Linked DNA regions of Homo sapiens: region 2 is linked to region 1. Evidence: promoter capture Hi-C in 16 types of primary human blood cells and fetal thymus (Javierre and others, 2016). All regions are on one chromosome and are shown on one strand. The core of a region is centred on a gene start or on the middle of the fragment in contact, and the rest is flanking DNA. Distances in the headings are between cores, read along the strand shown.

Evidence for each region. Contacts are between HindIII fragments. The CHiCAGO score rates a contact against its expected background, and 5 or more counts as called.
Region 2: a fragment that was not itself captured here is called in contact with the fragment with the promoter of TENT4A in region 1 in 1 of 17 cell types (naive CD4 T cells); the score reaches 5.3 in naive CD4 T cells.

What each region holds. Positions count from the first base shown.
Region 1 is chr5:6,710,864-6,716,735 of GRCh38, forward strand. It overlaps TENT4A (terminal nucleotidyltransferase 4A), which reads left to right and starts at 2,569. Exons shown (of 13, transcript NM_006999.6): 1 at 2,569-3,836. The coding sequence starts at 3,121. RefSeq lists enhancers at 1,658-1,717, 4,935-4,984, 5,285-5,344 and silencers at 1,888-2,327, 2,438-2,807, 3,108-3,177, 3,548-3,937. The HindIII fragment of the contact is 9,360 bases long and covers 1-5,872 here.
Region 2 is chr5:6,350,378-6,356,507 of GRCh38, forward strand. No RefSeq gene overlaps it. Among named protein-coding and RNA genes, the nearest start is that of LINC02145, 16 kb to the left of the region's middle. RefSeq lists an enhancer at 19-313. The HindIII fragment of the contact is 3,865 bases long and covers 895-4,759 here.

The sequences.
Region 1 (5,872 bases), core at 1,319-3,818:
TTTGGACGTTCAGCCTCTAGGACTGTGAGAGCATGCGTTTGTTGTTTTAAGCCACCCAGTTTGTGACATTTTGTTACTCAGCTCCAGGAAACTAAGGGAGAAAAAGCAAATGGGGAAGGGAAACGGGATGCTGAGGGTTATGTTTGCAGTTTAGACTAAAGAGCCACTTGGACGTCCTCACTAAGATGGGGAGGAGGGAACGCATGTCAGGCAGATGGAACAGCAAGTGCAAAGGCCCTGAGGCAGGAGTGTGCCAGGGGTGCTTCTGGCTGGTATTGTTTGGGCTAGGGAAAGCGCTGGGAGGTGAGGGCAGGGGAAGAGGGGAAGGACCAGGGGATAAGGGACTTGCAGGTCATAGCAAGGTTGTTCCATTTTGCTGAATGAGAAAGCCACTGGAGGGTTTTGAGCAGAGGAGTGGCATGGACTGAATTTTTTAAAATGTCAACTTTAAATTCTGGGATACACGTGCAAGACGTGCAGGTTTGTTACATAGGTAAATGTGTGCCATGGTGGTTTGCTGCACTTGTGAACCCATCACCTAGGCATTAAGCCCTGCATGCATTAGCTATTTATCCTGATGCTCTCCCTTCCCCTAACCCCCAACAGGTCCCGGTGTGTGTTGTTCCCCTCCCTGTGTCGATGCATTCTCATTGCTCAGCTCCCCCTTATTACTGAGAACATGCGGTGTTTGGTTTTCTGTTCCTGTGTTAGTTTGCTGAGGATAGTGGCTTCCACCTCCATTCATGTCCCCACAAAGGTCATGATCTCATTCCTTTTTACGGCTGCATAGTATTCTAAGAGTGGCATGAGATGATTTTTAAAATAGTAACATCTTTTTTGTTTTTTAAAAAGGATCACACGAGCAGCTGTGCAGAATGTGGGAAACCAGCTAGAAGGCACTGCTTTAAAATGGACGGGTGGCGGGGAAAGAGGGGTGGAGGGAGGAGGAGGGGTAGCAGTTGGGTTCTGGTTGTTTCGGGCAGTGGAGCCAAGAGGATGTGTTCATTGTGGACAGAGAGAGGAGCCAGGCATGACCAAGGATTTTGGACTGAGCCATTGGAAGCAAACAGCTCCAGAATAACGGCCGTTTGACTTGTGTGTGATTTTCTGTAGTTTACTGAATGCACGTTCTAATCCTTGGTCATGATTTCCACGTGTACAATATGAAGGTATTTGAAAACGTCTGAAACATTCATTTTCATTACTAACCACCACCACTTGCCCCAAAGCCTTTGTATGCAACACACGGACCTTTCCTGTTGGGGCGATGTTTGAAGGGTCAAGTGCTTAGTAATGTCTACTCATCTGTGCTGGAGACGAGGGGGTAGCATTTACAACACGCCTGTACGAAGGCCAGGTCCCGTTCTACTTAAAAGGCTTGGAGCCCGGGCGCCACTGGGCTAAGGCAGCTTCAGGGCCCTGGCCCGGGAGTGCATTTGCGGGGACTCCGCCTGAAGACAGGGCGGCAGCCGCGGGGCCTCACGTCGCCCAGGCTCGCGGGGCACCGCGATGATCAACGACACTGGCGTTTGCTTTGGACCTCACAGGATGTGTGGTTGGCGCTGTATTCCAAACAGTGCCACTGTCAACCCGGCTTCCATCGCGCTCGGGACACCGGGATGGCAAACGGCAGGCTGTGGATGGCGGGCGGTTTCCCACTGACTCCTGCCCGCTCGGTGCAGCTGGAAAAACCGAAGCCGGGGGCCGGACGCGCCGCCCACCAGCCGTTCCTCGGCTAGCACTGCCCATTTTGCCCAGGGAATTAACTTGGAAGTTTTCACTTCACTTTTCGCATAGAAAATCATTTTAAAAAGCAAACCAAACGCCTGTAAGCAGACCCGCTAGGGAGCAGGACTCTGCCGCGTGTCCTTCCCGGCTCCGGAGCGGCGGAGCCAGCCACCCGGCACGGCACGCTGGCCGCTCACCCCGCGAGGTGCAGGGAGCACGTGGGCCGACGCGCGGACCCCAGAGAGCGCAGCGTGACCTGCTGCACGGACCCTCGGATGAGAGACCTGGGGCGGGATCTGCGACCGGGGCCCGCCCTTACGTCAGGAGGGAGGGCCGGCCGGCGGGGGAAGCGCCTGCGGTGGCGTCCGCTGCCCCCGCCCGGCTGCTCGGAAACTTCCACCGGCGGCGGTGACGGCCACGCTGCCCTGCGCACGCGCAGCGCGGCTCAGGCGGCAGCCCGGTGACACCGGCCCTAGCGCGCATGTCTGCACGCCGGGGTCTGCGCGCCGCGGCGGGCCGAGGGCGGCGTGCGGGCCTTCCAGCCGCTGCCTATTCCACCCAACGCCGGCCTAGTCAGTAATGGCTCAACGCCACCGCCTCTCCCTCCAGCCCCTCCCAGTCGCGTAGCTTCTGACGCCGTCCTCACCCCGCCCGCGGCCGACGGGGCCCCAACGCGCAGGCGCGGTAACCACGGCGGCAGTGTCTAGTGAGGATTTGAAATCGGTCGCGCGTGCGCACCGGCGACACGGCCCGGCGACCGAGGCCGCGCTTCCTCCTGCCGCCCCCGTCCCCGCCCCCTCCCCCGCCCCTCATTGGAGCGGACGCGGCGGCGGCCCCCTCCTTCCCCCGCGCTGTCGCCGCCGAGAGTGTCTTTTCACCGCCGCCGCCGCCGCCGCCGCAGGAGCGCCGAGCCAGCGGCGCGAGCGTGACTGAGGGCTAGCCGCACGGGCGGCGGCGCCTCCCGCGGGTCCTTCAGCCGCTCGGCGCCTGGGCCCGCCCCCTCGGCCCCGCCGCCCGCCCTTCTCCGATGGCCTCTCCCCGCGGCCCGAGTGGAACGCCGCCGCCGCCGCGGCCCCCGCGCCCGCCCCGCGCCGCGTGAAGCGGGAGCCCGGAGACCGCAGCCGCCCGCTGGGACGCGCCAAGCGCCGGAGCCGCCCGCCGCGGCCTGCCGGGGCCCATCACCGCCGCCGCCGCCCCACGCCGGAGCCCGACGGGAGCGCGGCTAGAGCAGGAGGCCGGGGCTCGGCCCGCCCGCCGCCGCCGCCGCCGCCGCCGCCACCGGCCCAGGCCCGTCCGTCCGTCCGTGCGCGCGCGGCCGGGCCTCGGGGCGCGGCGGGGGCGGGGCCGCGTCGGGGCGGGCGGGCGCGCGGGCCCCGCGGGGGCGGCGCGTGGATGGATCCGCGCGTGGCCTGGATCCAGCCCGAGCAGAAGGGGCCGGCCAATGCCCTGTGGATGCAGATCTGGGAGACCTCGCAGGGCGTGGGCCGCGGCGGCTCGGGCTTCGCGTCCTATTTCTGCCTCAACTCGCCGGCGCTGGACACGGCGGCCGCGGCGGGGGCGGCCGGGCGGGGCAGTGGCGGCCTGGGCCCCGCGCTGCCCGCCGCGTCGCCCCCGCCGCCCGGCCCCACCGCGCCCGCCGCGCTGCCCCCCGCGCTGCTGACGGCGCTGGGGCCCGCGGCCGAGGGCGCGCGGCGCTTGCACAAGTCGCCGTCGCTGTCGTCCTCGTCGTCGTCCTCCTCGTCCAACGCGGAGTCGGGCACCGAGAGCCCCGGCTGCTCGTCGTCGTCCTCCAGCAGCGCCTCGCTGGGCCGGCCGGGCGGCGGCCGCGGCGGCGCCTTCTTCAACTTCGCCGACGGCGCGCCCAGCGCCCCTGGCACAGCCAACGGGCACCCCGGGCCGCGCGGCCCCGCGCCCGCCGGCTCCCCGTCGCAGCACCAGTTCCACCCGGGTCGCCGGAAACGCGAGAACAAGGCCAGCACCTACGGCCTCAACTACCTGCTGTCCGGCAGCCGCGCGGCCGCTCTCAGCGGAGGGGGCGGCCCCGGGGCCCAGGCGCCGCGGCCCGGCACCCCGTGGAAGAGCCGCGCGTACAGCCCGGGCATCCAGGGGTGAGTGCGCGGGGAGGCCGCGGGGGCGGGGGCGGGGCCCATGGTCCTGGCCGGCGCCCGCGGTGCAGACACCCGTCCCAGGCGCCCGGGCTTTTGGAGGATGGATGTTGAAGGCTAAGGCCAAGGCCCGACTCTGCACTGAAAGTTTTTTTTTTAAACATCAGACTCATTTATCGTGGAGTGACTTGCCCAGATCCTACAAGTAACAGTCCAAGAAAAGGGGCTGCTGGGTAGGACCTGCAGGTATTTGTCTTTTTTACTCTTGAGATTGGAACGGGAAATCGACTCTCTACCCCTCCACCCCGCCTCCGGGCAAGTGAGGAACCCCTTGTCAAAGTGGGGCGTAGATAAGTGTGGAGTTTCACGTAAGTTAAGTTGCAGAATAATTTAGCATTGCCAGGAACTCGAATCACGTCGAAGGTAAATATTAACCTTTTTAATTTCATTTTTTAAAAAAATTTAACTGTCAACTTAGAGGTGATTCATTTTTTGGGGGGTGTTGTGTCCTTTAATTTTGTGCTGCAATTACCATAAGCATCGCCTATGGTTTATAAACATTGGCTTAATTCAAAGAAAAAACCAGATTTGTCATATATGTCTATTCTTTGGAAGGTGCCATTTTTATTTTAAATATTTCTACATCCGCCTAGAGGGAATTAGAGGCTCTACTTAAATTTAGTGCACTTACAGACGGCAAGGAATGAAACGAAAGGTGGTGTGTGTTTCGGGGTTGGAATTGTCCCAGGTGAGGCTGTTCAGGTGTGATGCTGTTGACGCAGCCCCTTTGCCATTTTGGGCTTTTCTGAGCGTCTGGAAGCAATTTATGTGTAGGTTGTATGTCAGTATTTTAAGACTTAAATGATAATTTTTCCTTGCACAATTTTTCCCCCCAATTTAAAAAACAATTAAGGATTTGCTGGGGTATGAGGGTTGTTGCATGCAGTAGAGTCCTACAAATAACCACAATTGCTAGGTGTTGGGAGTTCTTATAGTAAACTTTTGCTTGTAACTCTTTTTCTCATTTGAAGTATGTTGGGAAACACGAGTTGATACTTCTTTAAAGCGTGTGATACACTGTAATAGCTGCATGTTCTGTAACTTATTTCACCTGGCTTGGGCTACAAGCGATACCTTCTAAATTTCCCGAAGTGTAAACATGCAGTGCAGACGCCGGCAGGAGCGCAGACTCCTCTTCTCTCCCTCCAGTTCTTACCTGTAGAACTTTCTGAGAGCAGGTGGTTGGGAGCAGTTTCTTCTTGATGAATAGCAATATATACCTAAGGGCTCGCTTGGGGAGGACCTTTAGGTTTCCAGCCTGTTATGTAACTGGAATGGACTCCGTTTCTCTTAGCACTAGAAAAAACAGGAAGACACGTGGTCTCTGCCAGTCTTGGGTTGTACCTCTGCTCTTAGAAAGTGGTAGCGCATCAGGTCCCATGCACCTCACTTGGGCTCCCCGAGCTGTTTCCTCCAGGTAACTCTAGTCAGGCTCAGTAGGTGGTGTTGCTTTTGTTAGTGAATGAGCCCACTAGGATCAGGTGCTGTGCTAGGATCTGGGGATCTGGGGCAGGGACGGCATGGGAGACACAGTCTCATGATCTTGACCCACCCTGAAACCTGCCTGCAAGTGCCCCCTGCCTAGAGCACAAGAGTACCCTGCTCAGTTGTGCAGGTCCCCTCTCACGCTCTTCGTCACCCACGTCCAGTCTCTCATCACATGCTGTTCGTTTGGCCCTTTTAATCTCTCCACACCTCATCCTCCCTCATGCAGGCTCTTGTTACTTCTGTGGAGATTGCTCAAGCAGCCGGAGGTGCCTTTGATGCACTCTGGTCCTGCTTGAGTCCTTTCCCATCACAGGTAATGGGGCAATCTTCTCTGCCAGCAGGTCTGGTCAGATTCCCCTTCACCCTGTGATGTCACCTCCCCCATCTCCAATCCCCCACATTAAAGACTAAAGCCTAAAACTCAGCAACACCTCCAGGGCTCTGCTGCTCAGATGCCCCTAGGTCCTGGCTCCTGGCCCCACCCCTTGCCA
Region 2 (6,130 bases), core at 1,577-4,076, 360 kb before region 1:
TGTTTACCAATTATTCTCCTTTCCTGGCTAGAACCCTAAAATAATATCAGCAACTGCTGGGAGGGAGGGAGGGAAGGGGAGGAGTCAGACTCGGAGGACACGTCTGACAAAGAGGCAAAGGAAGCTCCTTGCTGCTGCTGCTGTCCTTGCTGCTGTTCTGCCTGGGCTTCGTTTTACAGGATCAATGTTGGGGTGTCACCGGGTCAACGGCAGGGAGGTCTCTCAGCAGGGACACCCAGGCCCAGCGAACACACTGATGCACCGTGCTCATATACCGGCCGGTGATCACTTCGGCTTCTTTGGGGGAAGAATTTCCGGCCTGAGCCATCACATTCCAGGGAGTTCCTGAGGACAAAGGGTATCATGGAGTCTCTGGGCACAGCCCCTCGCTCCTCTGCAGGACCTGAATGGTCACCCCACAGCAACAGAGCCGGCACACCCTCAGCACGGCTGCAGCATAGCTCTTGTCCACTCCTTCTATGGCGAGCAGGATGGCATCACCCACGGGGCCTGCCGTACCCACCAGCAGCACCTAGAGAGGGACAAGAGGAGACAGGGCACTGCCTCCTCTGGGACAGGTGTCGAATGGAGTCAAGATCTCCTGATTGTCAGAGACCAAGGGGTCAAAAGGACCCATGCCCCCAGCACCTTCCCCAGCCTATGAGCAAGCCATGGTCCCATGCTTTCCTCCAAAGCCATGGAAATGGTACTGTGGGCAGGGAGAGGTCTCTTTAGCCACAGACACCTGGCTCCCCCTTCATCTTGAGGGCAATATTTCTCTGGTGGGTTGGAAGTGCTCATTACTCACATTGGGAATGACACTTCTGGGGTGCCCAGTGTCAGGGACTTTGGGAGGGATTGCATTCCTCTCAGTAAAGTGGCAGGGAACACAGAAGCTTATGGCAAGCGTTGGACCAAATACCAATGAAAATACCAGACAGAGTAGCTTACAAACACATTTCCAAAGAATTTCCCTTGTACTCATGGATGGAGTTCACCTACCTTTCTCTCAACACTGGACTCAGGCAATGCTGGAGAGTAATCCAATTTCATGCAATTCAATGAATACAGTGAGGCCAAGGGGGAAAAGCCCCCTCCTTCCCCTGAGAAGGCTCGCAGACCTCCAGGCAAGCAAAGTGCTATGATGGGCTGTGCCGTGCGGCACAGTGGAGGGCAGAAGAAACTCACGGCATCAGCAGGGCTGGCAGGGCAGGCACTCACAGTGAGGCAGGAAGGTGAGCTCGTTGTCAGGCACAGGAGACACAAGCAGGAGGTGAAGGAGGATCAATGGGGAGACAAGCCATGAGCCGCACTCCCTGGAGAGCCAAAGGGCTAGCAGGCAGAGGAAGAGGGTGGCAGGAGGGTGTGGCTGAAGTCAAGCAGGAGAGCAGCTTTGGGGAATGGAGACCAGGATGGGCTTCCTGGAAGAGAAGTAAGGGAAGTGAGGGAGCCAGTCTGCTGCCCACCAGACCAGAGTTCACTGGGCGGGAGGGAGCTGGGAATAAAGACACAGGACCCAGCAGTCCCTCTTCCTCCTCCTGCCCTCCCACTGCCACCCACACAAAATCAGCCATGGGACACTCAGGAAAAGGAGAGTCCTCAAAACGAAGACAACAAGAGACAGAGAAAAGGCAGCAGATATTTAGATGTGTATCTAAATATCAGGGGCAATAGACACATATCCCCCATTCTGACCTCACATTTACAAATTTAATTCCATATAGATTGTAAGTCTCACCATGAAAGGTGAAATAATAAAACTTTAAGAAAATATGGGAAAAGAAAAAAAAGCACTAAAACCACAAAAGGAAAAAAAAAGGTACATTGAGCCACATGAACATAAGAAGTATTATTCATCAAAAGACACCACTGAGAGGGAAATTCAGACCACAGAAAAGACATTCATAAGACACGCATTTGGCAAAGGACTTGGGCAAATCAACAAGAAAAATCCAATAAATCCAGACAATTCAAAGAAATGGGCAAATGACTTGGACAGGTACTATGCAGAAGAGGATAGCCGCGTGGCTAGTAAACAGATGAAAAAATGGTTGATATCTCCCACAGGGCAATGCAACACCCTGCACACGTGAGAACTACTGACGTGACAAAGGCAGTACCCAGCGTGGAAGGGAGTGCAACATGAGCTCTCATCTCTATTGAGAAAGCGTTCACTCATCCATTCCAGAACAGGGTTTGCAGGATCTACTGATGCTGAGAACACATCTCCCTATGGCCCAGAAACCCTGTTCCTAGGCATTCACACAACAGCAACGAGTATGTGTGTGCATCCAAAGACAAATCCACACATCATCACAACAGCAAGATTCATAGTTGCCAAAATCTAGAAACAACCCAATGCCCACCTACAGTAGAATGGATCCCTAATTGCGGTGTGTTCACACAGTCAAAGCTATACCGCAACAATGAAGATGAACAAGTTTCAACTAGACACAACAAAAGGGATTTATCTCACATATAATGGTGAGCAAAAAAAGCAGGCACAAAAGCGCACACAGTGTGGCTCGGTGTATGTGTGGTTCAAAATTGTGCTGTTCAGACGTGGGAGGTGGGTCCTGTTGGAATGCGGGTTAAGGACAAGTAGGAGGCACGAGGGGCTTGCAGGATGTGGGAGAGGTGCTATTCCTTCTTCTGTATCCTGTTTGCCTGGATGTGTTTCATTTGTGACGATTCACTGAGCTGTGTACTTAGAATCTGTTCATTTCCCTTCTATCTGTTTGTAGTGGGCCGAATGGGGACCCCCTAAAACATAGGTCCACAACCTAGTTCCCAGAATCTTTTATGATGAGAATCAACCCTACCTGATATGGCAGAAGATGTGATTATGGTGAGGATCTTGAAAGGAGGAATTTATCCCGGATTACCCACGTGGGCTGGAAACCTAAAATGAGAGCCTCCTTGTAAGAGAGAGAAAAGGCCACACAGCGACACAGAGAAGACCATGTGAAGATGGAGGCAGAGCTTCAAGGGATGTGGCCACAAGCCAAGGAGCTCCCGGAGCACCCAGAGCTGGAAGAGGCAGGAAGGATCCTTCCTTGGGGCCTTCGGAGTGAGCACAGCCCCGCTGAATTCAGACTTCTGGTTTCCAGAACTATCAGGATACATTTCTAAGGCTGGGCACGGGTGGCTCATGCCTGTAATCCTAGCACTTTGGGAGGCCAAGGCGGGCAGATCACTTCAGTTCAGGAGTTTGAGAGAATAAATTTCTGTTATTTTAAGAGACCATGTCTGTGGTCATTTGTAAAAGCAGCTGCAGGAAACCGATCCACTCTTCTACTTCAATGAAATGAGGAAATTAAACAGTAAAATCGAATTCTGCCTGGGCCCCACTCTAGGCCAAGTAAGTCAGAACAGGCTGGGGAGGGCCTGAGCATTAGGCGGCTCCCATTCCCGGGTGGCGCCCAGGGTTCCCCGGGCTCAAGAGGCTTCACCAGGAAGGGAGACTCCCTGCTGCCTCGGGCCCCTGAAAAGGTCCTCAGGGACATGGGGCAGGGGGGTTGGGGGCACCAAAGTGGCCAGGACCACTCGGCCGGGTTTCCAGGCCGCACTAAGACCCTTCTGAGGTTTGCAATCATGAATCGTAAGTGAGCCTCAGCCAGATGTGTAACTGTCTCCTGCGATGTTCAGATCCTCAGGGTAGATAAATGTGTTTAATCAGAGCTGGGATGTTTCCAAGTGAATTATAAAAGAGAGGGAAGAGGGCAAGGGAATTGAGGATGCTCAAAAGAAGGAATGACATCATGAGCCACAGAATCTTAGCTGGGTAAGAAAGGAACTAAGGGTGGAGGGAAAGCTAGGGAGCAGAAATGAGGTAAGAAGAATGAATGGGGGCCAGAAAGCACCACAGTGGGGGCTCACCCAGGAGGCTGGGCAGGCGGAGGCAGTCAGAGAGGGAGGCAGAGGCTGGGGGAAGACAGGCTGAGGTTCAGCCTCAGAAGAAGGAAGCAGAGGCTGGAGGGGGACAGGCTGAGGGTCTGGACATGGAAGAAGGAGGCAGAGACTAGGGAGACAGGCTGAGGTTCAGCCTTGGGAGAGGGAGGCAGAGGCTGGAGGGGGACAGGCTGAGGGTCCAGACATAGAAGCAGGAAGCAGAGGCTGGAGGGAGACAGGCTGGGGGTCCAGCCTCGGGAGAAGGAGGCAGAGGCTGGAGGGAGACAGGCTGAGGTTCAAACACGGAAGAAGGAGGCAGAGGCTGGGGAGAGACAGGCTGGGGGTCCAGCCATGGGAGAAGGAGGCAGAGGCTAGGGAGAGACAGGCTGGGGTCCAGCCATGGGAGAAGGAGGCAGAGGCTGGGGAGAGACAGGCTGGGGGTCCAGCCACAGGAGAAGGAGGCCACAGCGTGCCAGGAAGGTGGTTAGAGCTGTGAGGAGGTCCCACAACAGAGACCAGGCATTCAGCAGATTATCCTCAAGGAGACCAATGACCTAAAAATGGTGCCAGGAAGGAAAATGAAAGGAACACCATGACCAGGGTCCGGAGGCTCAGGGAATGAGGGAGTGGTCCTGTAGGTCAGGGATAAGAGCTATGGGACATGGGCTTAGATGGGCTTTGTGTCTGGCAGAGGGTGAAAGAGAGCATGTGGACAAGGCCACAGGGAGGGGAGCAGGGAGGGCACGCCTCAGTGGCAAGAGAGGGAACAGCCTCCCTTTGAGAACTCAGAGGATGGCCGACTTGTGTGAAGGGGACACTCAGAGAAGAGGTGAGGATGCTGCAATGCTTTCTACACCCAGGTCTGCAAAGCTTACTGAAAAGTAATACATCACTGCTCTTTAGCTGTAGGAATTCTACTATCTTGGTATACTTATGAAATAGCCAAAGAAAGGCAGCTTTCCAATCCTTCACCCCTGAAAGTTCACAAACTCAGTCTACGTGACATCACTGCGTCTTCAAAGCAGGTCCTCCCAGAGCTCACCCTTCTAAATGCAGAAACTGGCCAAGTGGAGCTAGGAGTCTGTGTCATTTCCTAGGACATTCCCAGGGTCCCTATTGTGTGACAGCTACTAGGAAGGCACACGAGGCACCAAGTTCCTCCGCAGGAGACCCCTCTCCCCTGGCGGTTCTCTGCTGGCACTGAGCCACTGTGTGCAGCCGTGATGCCCAGGCAGGCCCTCACCCCAGGTACCTCTGGGGCCTCCTGGGTGCTGCAGCTTCTTGCTGGGCTGTTCATGGAACAGGTTGCCCTTGGTGCCTACATGTCCCGCCCTCAGCACCAGCTCCTGTGAGGGCAGGGACCCCAATGCCCTCGACCTAAGGCTCTCCCTTCTTTCCTGTCTGCCCCATGGCCATCCTGGAAGGCATCACCAACAGAAAGCCATTCCAGAAAGCGTCCTCTCTGCCCAGATGGACGCAGCTGCCCTGTGTGAGCTCCAGGCTACCATCTAATGACATCTTATCTTCTTCCTGAAACCAAGATACCCCTGGCTGGTGGAAAGTGAATGGCCTTGGAGTCGAAAGAGACTCTTTCGGGCAACCTGTTGTGTTCGTTTCTTGTTGCTGTTGTAACAAGTCATCACAATCTTAGCAGCTTAAAACAACACTAGTTTATCATCTTGGGATTCTGTAGGTTAGGAGTTCCAAAGCCGGTCTCACTGAGCTAACCTGAAGGTGTCAGCAGGGCTGGTTCCTCCTGGAGGCAAGGGGTTGGCCGGGGCGGGGTGGGGGTGGGACTTCTGCTCCATTGCCTTTCCAGCTTCTAGAGGCCACCCACATTCCTTGGTCCTCTTAAGCCAACAGCCTTGTGTTTCTCTGACCATGCCTCTGTGCCCAGGCTCCCCCTGACTCTCCTCTTCCACCTTCCTCTCCCACTTCTAAGGACCCCTGTGATTACATGGGGCTACCCAGATAATCCAGGGGCATCTCCCTCTTTTAAAGTCAGCTGATTAGCAACCTTAATTTCATCTGATTCTCCTGCACCACATAACCTAACGAATCCAAAGGTCCAGGGGATTAGGAGGTGGACCTCTTTGGAGGGCCATTATTCTGCCTACCACACCTCAAATGCAAGCCGTCTTCTTTTCCAGGCTTCTATTATTTCACTTGGTTCCTGACATGGTAAGGGAAAAAGGGGTTTCCCTGGCAGCACATGCTGCTAAAGCGGTTGAGGGTCCCT